Regions from separate parts of the Homo sapiens genome. Here all the other regions are linked to region 1. The links are contacts of gene promoters, found by promoter capture Hi-C in human tissues and cell types (Jung and others, 2019). All regions are on one chromosome and are shown on one strand. The core of a region is centred on a gene start or on the middle of the fragment in contact, and the rest is flanking DNA. Distances in the headings are between cores, read along the strand shown. Region 1 holds the start of BIRC5 (baculoviral IAP repeat containing 5). Region 2 overlaps CYTH1 (cytohesin 1). Region 3 holds the start of LGALS3BP (galectin 3 binding protein). Region 4 overlaps USP36 (ubiquitin specific peptidase 36).

Region 1 (2,849 bases), core at 209-2,708:
ATGCAGTATAACCACCATAGCAAACATACTAAGAAAAAAAACAGCTACTCTCTTCTGGCCAAAAAGAAAAACAACTGGGGTGATTCTCCAGGGGAAAAAAATTAAAGCTGTGGAAGCAACTGAATCCGACAGAAAAAAAGGTGAGAAAAGAATATGGCATTACAGTGTGGAAAGACAGATACCATCCGAGTACAGAATTTCATTGTCATTAACTAGGCATCTTGAAGAAAAAAATCCAGAACAACACTGAAGTATATGCTTTCTTTCTTTTTTTTTTTTCAATTTTTTATTTTTATGACGGAGTCTCGCTCTGTCGCCGAGGCTGGAGTGCATTGGCACAATCTCGGCTCACTGCAACCTCCGCCTCCCAGGTTCAAGCGATTCTCCTGCCTTAGCCTCCCGAGTAGCTGGGATTACGGGCGTGCGCTACCATGCCCGGCTAATTTTTGTATTTTTAGTAGAGACGGGGTTTCGCCAAGTTGGCCAGGCAGGTCTTGAACTCCTGACCTCAGGTGATCCGCCCGCCTCAGCCTCCGAAAGTGTGAAGTGCACACTTTCAAAGGGTAATTTTTGTGCTGTGTAGGTTATATTTCAATTAAACTGTTTTTTAAAAAATCTCAAAAAAAGCACTTGGACGTTCCTGGGAGTTCACAACAACAGGGTCTGCTGATGTATTCTGTTGAACATGAAAGGCATCAGGCATCTTACGTCCACCCCAAGGCATTTTGGTCAAATGAGATTTAATTAGGTTGTAAGCATCACCAAGGCACCAGCATATAGAGAGGTATCCGTTCACAACAGCTGTTTAAGAAGCAATGAGGGTGGAAAGCAACCCTCCCATACTAAGTGTCTTTGCAACTCAAATCTTTTGACAACTCAGTTCAAAACAAAGCCCATCGAGGCTGGCCAGAGAAGACTTACATGGGGTCGTCATCTGGCTCCCAGCCTTCCAGCTCCTTGAAGCAGAAGAAACACTGGGCCAAGTCTGGCTCGTTCTCAGTGGGGCAGTGGATGAAGCCAGCCTCGGCCATCTGCAAGGGACAGCACAGCTCGTGAGTGGACGTGGCAGCCCGGAACCCCGAGGCCCAGCCACAAAGGCCTCGATGGGGACAAAGCAGGGAGGGGAGGCCGGCCTGGACCCAAGGGGCCCAGCCACAGTGGCCTCGCTGGGGACAGGACGGGGAGGGGAGGGCGGCTTGTACCCCCGAGGCCCAGTCACAGTGGCCTCGCTAGGGACAGGGCAAGGCGGGCGTGGGGGACCCCAGGAGGCCGGGCAGTCTCACCCGCTCCGGGGTGCAGGCGCAGCCCTCCAAGAAGGGCCAGTTCTTGAATGTAGAGATGCGGTGGTCCTTGAGAAAGGGCTGCCAGGCAGGGGGCAACGTCGGGGCACCCATGCCGCCGCCGCCACCTCTGCCAACGGGTCCCGCGATTCAAATCTGGCGGTTAATGGCGCGCCGCGGGGCATGTCGGGAGCGCACGCCCTCTTAGGCGGTCCACCCCCCGCGGCCTTCTGGGAGTAGAGGCGGGGCGGCGCGGGGTGTGCCGGGAGTTGTAGTCCTCCCGCCGCGTGGCTCTGCCCGTGGTCGCGGTGCACCCAGCGACGCCGCGCCAGCTCGTCCCTGCCCACACCTAGCGCCCCCTCGACTGCTTTCAAAGAACGCGTGCAGGCCGGGTGCAGTGGCTCACGCCTGTAATCCCAACACTTTGAGAGGCCTAGGCAGGAGCATCACTTGAGTCCTGGAGTTCAAGACCAGCCTGGCCATCACGGTGAAACCTTGTCTCTACTAAAAATACAAAAATTAGCTGGGCGTGGTGGTGCATGCCTGTAATCCCAACTACTCGGGAGGCTGAGGCAGGAGAATCGCTTGAACCCGGGAGGCAGAGGGTGCAGTGAGCTGAGATTGTGCCATTGCACTCCAGCCTAGGCAACAAGAGCAAAACTCAGTCTAAAAAAAAAAAAAAAGTCAGACAGGAGAGCTTTACAGGGTGCCACCTCTGCAAAAAGCATCTACTCCAGACGGGCATGAAGGACAAATGAACAGGGGAGGGATGGAGTGCAGCAGACATCGCTGTCCCGGCGAGTACATCGTTGACTGCACGACCTGGGTTTCCAGGAGGGCCACCTTCTGGAGTCAGGGGCCAGGGACTGGGCCACTACCGTGATAAGAAGACAAGGGAGCTGGGGAAAGCCCAGTGGAGGGTGGGGGCCTGTGCTCAGGGCAAACTCCTCCTTTCCCTTCGCAAAGCAGGGCGTCCCACCAACAGTAAGTCCTGCAGCCTATTAAAAAAAAAATCAGTGTGTCCTCTGCTTTGGAACAGGGTGTTCTGGAGTCACTTCTGGAGCTGGGCATCACATCCACTCACTTCTCTGGTTCTATGGCCAGAGATAAGAGGCCTGGCCTTATTAGCCCTCCAGCCCCACGCAGGCCTGGTGCCTCCACTGTCTTTTTCATTTTGGGGTTTATTTATTTATTTATTTATTTTTGCAACCTCTCCCCACCCCTCCCACCCCGCCCCCATTCTTTAATACAGTAACTTTTTATTTTGATGTTTATTTATTTATTTGAAACTGAGTCTCGCTCTATCGCCCAGGCTGGAGTGCAGTGGCATGATCTCAGCTCACTGCAACCTCCTCCCCGCCACGGGTTCAAGCGATTCTCCTGCCTCAGCCTCCCGAGTAGCTGAGATTAAAGGCATGCACCACCACACCAGGCTAATTTTTGTATTTTTAGTAGAGATGGGGTTTCACCATGTTTGCCAGGCTGGTCTCAAACTCCTGACCTCAAGTGATCTGCCTGCCTCGGCCTCCCAAAGTGCTGGGATTACAGATGTGAGCCACTGCGCCCGGC
Region 2 (2,965 bases), core at 340-2,839, 510 kb before region 1:
TCCAGATATACAGATAGGCAGAAGAGGAAGAGTCCAGGCCTCCCCCACTCTCTTTCCACAGTCCTTGCTTTGAAAGGTGATTCCTGCTAGCAGTTTCAAGTGTGTCCTTCTCAGAAGCTCCCTGTGTGTTTAGCAAGCGTAGGTGTTACTTGTGAGAAGGTATTCTGTGCCATCCTGTTTCACCAGATGTGTCTTAGAGATCTTTTCATGTTAGCATTTACAAATCACCTCATTCTTTTAAATTACCAAGTAGTTTTTAGGTAGTTTAAAATTTTTGGAATTTGGGGAGCATATCCACTCTTAAGTGGAATTTAAGAATCAAATTCATAAGTTTGATTCAAATCAAATCAAAAGGTGTGTGCTCTTTATGTTTTGCTAGTGCCAAAAGGTTGTACCAGTTTACACTCTCCCAGCAGCACGGGAGACTGCCTGTGTAGCCCACTCCCCTGACAGTATTTCGTCTCATCTGGCATTCTGATTCCTGCCAGACTAATGGAAAATGGTATGTTATTCATGTTTTAATTTGCATTAAACACATAGTGACTGTGAGCATCTTCTTCTGTGTGACCATTTGTATTTCTCTTTTTGTAATCTGTCTTTTATATCCTTTGCTCATTGTATTCATCTTTGCTTTACTAATTTTTATGCTGCTTTCTTTGTGACTTAAATAAATTAACCCTAGCCAGGTGTGGCACATACTTATAGTCCCAGCTATTCTGGAGGCTGAGGTGGGAGTATCGCTTGAGGCCAGGAGTTTGAGGCTGCAGTGAGCTATGATCACACCACTGCACTCCAGCCTGGGTACAGAGTGAGACCCTCTCTCTAAAAATAATAAGTTAATTAATTTAAAAAAAGATATTAACCCTTTGTCATATGTTTTGTGAATTTATTGTCCTAGTTGTTTACCTTTTAGCTTATGGGATATTATTTTTCACTCAGAAGCTTTTCATTTTCATGTCGCAAATGAGCAGACTCACCAATATTATGACTATACTAATTCATGCTCTATTCTAGAATTATTCAGGTTTTATTTTACATTAACATCTTTGATTAAGCTAGAATTCATTTCAGCTTAGTTTTATCCCAAATGGCTAGCTGGCTATTTATTTGCTCAGCACCCTTGACTGAATAATCCTATTTTTCTTTACCGATTCAAAGTGCTACGTGTGTGTTTCAGTATTTCTTGAGTTTGTTTTCTGGTCTTTTTCTTCCGTTGCAGTTTCAATTACCAAAGCCTCACGTGCTTTAATCTCAGGTAGCTACACCCTCACGTTACCCTTTCTCCCTTTCATATTTTTCTGACTATTGTCATATATATTTTTTCCCATGTGAAGTTTAATATCCTTTTTATTATATTTCTGTAAACATCATGTTGGTAATGTAAATAATTTTTTTTTTTTTGAGATGGAGTTTCGCTCTCATTACCCAGGCTGGAGTGCAATGGCGTGGTCTTGGCTCACTGCAACCTCTGCCTCCCTGGTTCAAGTGATTCTCTTGTAATACCAGCCTCCCAAGTAGCAGGGATTACAGGCATGTGCCACCACACCTGGCTAATTTTGTATTTTTAGTAGAGATGGGGTTTCACCATGTTGGTCAGGCTGGTCTCAAACTCCTGACCTCAAGTGATCCACCCACCTCGGCCCCCAAAAGTGCTGGAATTACAGGAGTGAGCCACTGCACCCGGCGTAAATAATGTTTTTAAACATCGTGGTGTATGTACGAGAACTTTGATTACTGGGGTCTTTCTACCTTTGCTCAGGTCCCCTTTGTTTTCCATGTTTCTTTTTCCTGTCTAGATGAGAGGCTGGCCCTGCTGCAGGAACCAGCCTGGCTTGGGGAGGATTTACCAGTGTTTGGGGTAGAATAGAGTTTGTCCAGAGAAACTGACTATATCGTGCCACCTAGAGGTGGGCATCCATTTGTCGTGGAGGGAGGCCATAGGACACCTGCATGATATCAGGGACTCACTGCCCTCTCATGGGTCAGCACCTCTTCAGCTAGTTCTGGAGTGGGTGTGCTGCCCTGGATCTCAAAGGTGCAGAGCTTGGCCTGCCTTCTGCTCCTCCTCACTGCTCTCCTTGGCTGCCCCTGCCATAGGTCTCGTCTTTCTTCCTCCTACAGTTCTGCCCCCTGCATGGGCAGGAGATAGGGGACGGTCCAAGAGCAGCCTCATGAGAGCAGCCAAGACAGAGAAGAAGAAGCCTGCCCTCCTAACACACTGAGTTGGCACCAGAAGGATGCACTCGCCAGGAGGCTTGGGTCGGCCGTGCCTGCTCCAGCCTTGCCCTGCTGGTAGGTGGAGGCAGGGGGCCAGTATCCTGGACCTTCCCGCGACTTGGAAGGCTGGTGCCCTAGTCAGCTCCTTCTTACACCTCTCCCAAACTTTTGCAAACCCGGACTCGGGGCAACTCTGGTAAGGGTGATGTCTGGAACAGGGAGCCAGTTTGTTTCTATTTTGAGGTGCAGGTAGAAATGACCTTCCTTTCAAGAGATCTTCAAGGACTTCTCAGAGCAGGAACAGATGCCAGTTTTTGCTTCTTTGAAGAAGATTTTATGCTCCTAGCATTTACTAAAGAATAATGAGGCATTTTTAAGTGTAAGGAGTGGAATAGAATTTAAAGAAAAAAGTAAAAAAAACCCCAGGCCTCTGTTTTCATGGGACACAGAAGGAGGGGAGATTGAGAATGCTGACTCGCCTAAAAGCTTTATGCTTATCATGTCTGTGGTGCTTGGAGCCTGTGGCCCAGGTGATTTGGGGTTTGGGGACGCCTCATGGGCAGAGAGGACCTTTGAGCAGCATTGTGAATTCGTGGGTTTGGGATGCTGATGAAACTGCGAGATTTGAATGTATTCCTTGTGCCTCATTTTCCGCTTTAGAAATAAAATGATTGATGCACATTGCCCTTGCACGCTTGTCAGAGGGTCACTTTCTGGTTGCACCTGTCCTTGAGCCTGAGAGAGAGAA
Region 3 (2,700 bases), core at 115-2,614, 770 kb before region 1:
GCAGCTGCCTAAAACCTCACACCTTGAAGGAAATAGTCATTGAATGTCTGACCTCTGGGCTGGCTGTCTCGGACTCTAAGCTGCCAGGGAACCAGGGCCTTCCACCCAGTGGGACTGCCTGGGGGCTTTTAAATGCCCCTGCCTGTCCCCTACTCCCAGAGATGGTGACTTCCTGGGTCTAGGCATTAGGAGTTTGTAAAACTCCCTGATGATTCTTCTGTCCAGCCCAGGCTGAGAACCACTGGTCAGAGGCCTGGGCACATCCCAAGGCTCATCCAGAACCATGGGGTGCAAGTGACAGAAACAAGAGCGGCTGCTGATTGCCTCACTGAGCGGTGAAGCCCAGCCTTGACCATGGATTAGGCCAGCTGGACCCAGGAGCTCAGGCCGGAGGATGCCTGCTTCCCTCTGCTCTGCCCCACCGGCCCCAGCAGCCTGGGCCCACATCCTCTCAGTCAGAAGCTGGCTCTCACCGGCTGGCTGGGCTCACAGCCCCACCCTGAAACCAGCAGTGTGGCCCGGGGCCCCCGCAGGGCTCAGACAGCCAGGCCTTGGGTGGTTGAAGGCCAAGAGCTGGGGGCCCTCTGGGAACCACACAGCCGGGAATGGGAGGGGGTGCTCCCCAAGGGACAGTTGAGGTGCCGGCTTTCAGTGGGAGGAAAGGGAATGGGTATGAGCTGGACAGAGCCATTATGTCACCCAGAGAGGCTCTGTCCCCCGCCCCGCTGAGGGGGAGACAGTAGGAGAGTGGCCACAGGTCCAGCAGTGGCGAGCACAGGCTCTGGGGTCAGGTGTTGGAGCAGGGTCCAGCTCCTCCACTGGCCAGCTGCATACCTGGTTCTCAGTGCCTCCCTCCCCTGGGGACAGGGGACAGTGCCATGCAACCTTGTGGGGCACAGGCCCTCTGTGTGGTCAGCATGCCAAGAGCACAGAGAGGGTGGATTTGCACATAAGCAGCCCCCTGTGTGGTGTTCACCCAGCCAGCAACGTGCTAGACCCAGGAAAAGACTCGGAGCGCTCTGTCAGAGTCCACAGCCACACCACCAGGTGCAGACTGTCTGGGCCCAGAGCCTCTGCTTCTTCCCCTCCCGTCCACCAAACGCCAGCCCCTGACCAGCCTGGCGGCCTTTCCAACTGAGTGTGGCTGTTAGTCCTCTTGCAGGCCTTGCTCCAGCCAGACTCCCACCTTGGGCCTCTGCCAGCCTGGCACTGATAGCCACAGGCAGAGCTGAGACAAAAGAGAGGGGCCCTGGGGAGTATCAGCAGCAGCCAATCCCGGAAGACATCTATGTCAGGTGGTTTCTGGAAATCGAAAGTAGACTCTTTTCTGAAGCATTTCCTGGGATCAGCCTGACCACGCTCCATACTGGGAGAGGCTTCTGGGTCAAAGGACCAGTCTGCAGAGGGATCCTGTGGCTGGAAGCGAGGAGGCTCCACACGGCCGTTGCAGCTACCGCAGCCAGGTAAGCTCCTGCCTCTAGCTCTCAGGTGGGCACCCCTCTCAGTCTCTCTCTCTTTTTTATTTTTATTTTTTTTGAGACAGGGTCTCACTCTGTCACCCAGGCTGGAGTACAGTGATGCAATGTCCGCTCACTGCAGCCTCTGCCTCCTGGGTTCAAACGATTCTCCTGCCTCGGCCTCCCAAGTAGCTGGGATTACAGGCGCGTGCCACCACGCCCAGCTAATTTTTGTATTTTTAGTAGAGACAGGGTTTCGCCATCTTGGCCAGGCTGGTCTCAAACTCCTGACCTCTGGTGATCCACCCGCCTCGGCCTCCCAAAGTGTAGGGATTACAGGTGTGAGCCACCGCGCCCGGCCAGGGCACCCCTCTCTCTACACAGGCAAGTGGGGGTCATGCCTCCCTGTTTGCACATAGGCCTGGAGCTGGGGATCCAGGGCTCCTGAGTCCAGCAACAATCATTGCTGCTCCCAGGCCCACAGGGCCTCTGTGTACAGTTGGGCAGATTACTCACTGCACAAGGATACCAGCCAAAGGGCAAGTGGGTTAGAATTCAGCTTGGCCCTCTCTCAGACCTGTGCATTTGGCCTAGGCCTGCACCCACTCCAAGGAAGAGCACCTTTTTTTCTGATTTGCACGAAGGGGCCAACACAGGCAGCCGGGTCTCAACTGTATGAAGGAATCAGGCAAAAATAGCCGCTGCCACACAAAGGGCAGCGACGCCACCTGCCAGGTGCTTCGTTGCCCCCCCCCCTTTTTTTTTTGAGACAGAGTCTTGCTCTGTCACCCAGGCTGGAGTGCAGCGGCTCACTACAATCTCTGCCTGCCGGATTCAAGCAATTCTGTTGCCTCAGCCTCCTGAGTAGCTGGGACTACAGGTGCACACCACCATGCCCAGCTTATTATTATTATTATTTTGTATTTTTAGTAGAGCCGGGGTTTCACCATGTTGGCCAGGCTGGTCTTGAACTCCTGACCTCAAGTGATCCACCTGCCCCAGCCTCCCAAAGTTCTGGGATTACAGGCGTGAGCCATCGCGCCTGGCCAGTTGGCCATTTTTCCAAGGCCCTGAGTTACTCTCCCAGGACGGACAAACCTAGTGGCTGCAGCAGAGTGAAGTGGCTGGGGGCAGAAGTGGAGAGGGCGTCCACCCATACCGGCGTGCCTGGGACTGAGGGGTTTCCCAGGACACAGGGAAACTTCAGTGCTAAAACCAGCACAGTCCCCAGCACACAGGACAG
Region 4 (2,700 bases), core at 93-2,592, 610 kb before region 1:
ATGTCTATGATAGCAGAGAAAATGGAAAGGCTAAATGTGTGTTAGTGGTGGATACATAAATAACAGTGGTCTCTTCATTCAGTGAAATATTCTAGCTGGAAGATTTGAAGGAACTGGAGCTATGTCTAGCAACATGGATTTTTGTAAAGCCATTGCTGAATGATACGTAACTGCATGATACGATTTATAGAAAGGAAGTTTGGAAACATGTAGCTACAGTGCCATTTATTGTTCATGGATACACATGTGTGTGATAATACATGAATGAGAACGATAATTGCCTAATTCAGGATAGTGGTGACTTTGAATGAAGGTACATGGAAAATGGGGTTGAGAGAGATTGAGGGGAGTTCGGCGATCACAGCAGTGTTTATTTACATCATAATTTGAAAGGTAAAAATGTACCACTGTCGGGGCTGGGCTCGATGGCTCACGCCTGTAATCCCAGCACTTTGGGAGGCTGAGGCAGGTGGATCACAAGGTCAGGAGTTCGAGACCAGCCTGGCCAGCATGGTGAAACTCTGTCTCTACTAAAATACAAAAAATTAGCCTGGCATGGTGGCACGAGCCTGTAGTCCCAGCCACTTGGGAGGCTGAGGCAGGAGAATTGCTTAAACCCGGCAGGCGGAGGTTGCAGTGAGCCAAGATTGTGCCACTGCACTCCAGCCTGGGTGACAGTGAGACTCTGTCTCAAAAAAAAAGGACCACTGTCTAGCCTAATGCCTAGTGAGGCGTTTTATGTAGCGCAGGGGTGGGCAGACTCATCTGGCCTGCTCTCTGTGTGTGTAAATAAAGTTTTATTGAACACGTTCATACCCCATTGTTCATATATTGTCTATGGCTGCCTCCTCTACAATACAGGAGCATAGTTGTGACTAGACTGTATAGCCCTCAGATAGGAAAGGATTTGCTATCTGGATCTTCCCAGAAAACATTTTCAACCCCAGATGTATCCTAGCGAGGTGTTTACTAGAACCAGTGGAACAGACGGTCCCATATCTGAGGCACTACTAAGGGGCTGTCAGCCCTAAAATATTTTAGCCTATTTACCATGTGATGCAGCTTAGAAATTCGAGAATACATCGTTTAAGCTTCATTTTGAAAATCTGCCTTAGTCTTTTTATAAGTAAATAATACTAGTGAAATCTGAAAAGGATCATGCACAGGTCAGCATTAATGTGGGGTGATGGTGTGAGGTTGTGATGGTGAGAGTTTCAGCTTTGGATGGATCATAGCTTCCAAACGCCATCCAGCAGAGAATAACATTTCCTTGGTGGTCACCCAGTCAGCAGAGGTCTGGGATCTCTGGCTCAGCCGTTCTCTCACAGCCTGGTTTGCTCTTACCTGCTTGTGTTTCTGGCTGTGTTAACGTTTGGGGTGGGGGCCTCACCGTGAGTTCTTTGAAAGCTCTTGTCTTAAAATTGCTCCTCCTTCCACGCCGGCAGGCCACCAGGGAAGCTTCTGCATGCTGTGTGTCATGCAGAACCACATTGTCCAGGCCTTCGCCAACAGCGGCAACGCCATCAAGCCCGTCTCCTTCATCCGAGACCTGAAAAGTAAGCATCAATCCATGTTAAAATTTTTGTGATTTATTTATTTTTTAATTTTTTGTAGAGATGGGGTTCTCGCTATGTTGCCCAGGCTGGTCTTAAATTCCTGGCCTTAAGCAGTCCTTCCGTTTTGGCCTGCCAAAGTGTTGGGATTACAGACACGAGCCACTGTGCCATTCTCCATCTGTTACTGAAGGCCTGCTAAGTGCTCGCCCTGTAGGAGGTGCTGGGGAGTTGGTAGAAGGGAGAGAAGAGTGAGTCATGGATGAAGTCTTGGGAATCCCTCTGTGCTAACAGCCCTGCATGTGGTGGTGCAGACTCAAGGAATAGCAGTTTAGAGACATGTGGGCTGGGGTCAGTGGGGAAGCCTCTTAGTGGGGGCAGGTCAGGACAGGTAGCTTTTCCTTTGGGCAGGTGGAGGAGTTATTGTGTATTTGGGGCAGGCAGGTGGGCCTGAGGGAGAGCTGGGAGGAGGGATGGATGAGGAATGTACCAATTCCATTCTGAATATCAGGAATCAGTTGCCTATGCTATAAAAAAGTCTCATTCACATTCACTTGGCAGAAAGAAGAGGCCTATTACCGGTTTTTGAAATCTGTGTAAATTGTAGCACTGTGAAATACTTACTCACCTGTGTTTTATATTGGCTTTTGGAGAGATATTCAATGGATTTTACATTCTTTTTGTTTGAGACAGGGTTTTGCTCTTATACCTAGGCTGGAGGACAGTGGTGCAATCACAGCTCGCTGCAGCCTCAAACTCTTGGACTCAAGCAGTCGGCCTTGGCCTTCTGAGTAGCTGGGATTACAGGCGCACCACACTTGACTGTTTTTGTATTGTTTGTAGAGATGGGGTCTGGCCATGTTGCCCAGGCTGGTCTCCAACTCCCAGCTCCAAGCGATCCTCCTGCCTTGGCCTTCCAAAGTGTTGGGATTACAGGCATAAGCCATTGCATCCTGCCGGATTTTACATTCTTTATTCTTTTTCTTTCTGAGATAGAGTCTTGCTCTATTGCCCAGGCTGGAGATTGCAGTGGTGAGATCATAGCTCACTGCAGCCTCAACCTCCTAGGCTCAACCCATCCTCCTGCCTCAGCCACCTAAGTAGCTGGGACTACAGGCACATGCCATCATGCCTGGCTAATTTTTTT

What was found. The method cuts DNA at HindIII sites, captures the fragments that hold promoters and counts their contacts. A contact is called where the count stands out against the background at its distance.
Region 2: a fragment that was not itself captured here is called in contact with the fragment with the promoter of BIRC5 in region 1 in 2 of the 25 tissues and cell types used here (dorsolateral prefrontal cortex and spleen).
Region 3: the fragment with the promoter of LGALS3BP here is called in contact with the fragment with the promoter of BIRC5 in region 1 in 1 of the 25 tissues and cell types used here (spleen).
Region 4: a fragment that was not itself captured here is called in contact with the fragment with the promoter of BIRC5 in region 1 in 2 of the 25 tissues and cell types used here (dorsolateral prefrontal cortex and spleen).

What each region holds. Positions count from the first base shown.
Region 1 is chr17:78,212,862-78,215,710 of GRCh38, reverse strand. It overlaps BIRC5 (baculoviral IAP repeat containing 5), which reads right to left and starts at 1,458. Exons shown (of 4, transcript NM_001168.3): 1 at 1,284-1,458; 2 at 922-1,031. The coding sequence starts at 1,394. RefSeq lists an enhancer at 812-1,713. The HindIII fragment of the contact is 20,243 bases long and covers 1-2,849 here.
Region 2 is chr17:78,726,985-78,729,949 of GRCh38, reverse strand. The region is part of intron 1 of CYTH1 (cytohesin 1); the gene reads left to right. Among named protein-coding and RNA genes, the nearest start is that of CYTH1, 54 kb to the left of the region's middle. The HindIII fragment of the contact is 3,980 bases long and covers 1-2,965 here.
Region 3 is chr17:78,978,587-78,981,286 of GRCh38, reverse strand. LGALS3BP (galectin 3 binding protein) reads left to right here and starts at 1,364. Exons shown (of 6, transcript NM_005567.4): 1 at 1,364-1,463. RefSeq lists an enhancer at 338-1,330. The HindIII fragment of the contact is 8,620 bases long and covers 1-2,700 here.
Region 4 is chr17:78,827,753-78,830,452 of GRCh38, reverse strand. USP36 (ubiquitin specific peptidase 36) reads left to right here. Exons shown (of 21, transcript NM_001385174.1): 5 at 1,446-1,556. Among named protein-coding and RNA genes, the nearest start is that of USP36, 12 kb to the left of the region's middle. The HindIII fragment of the contact is 3,104 bases long and covers 1-2,700 here.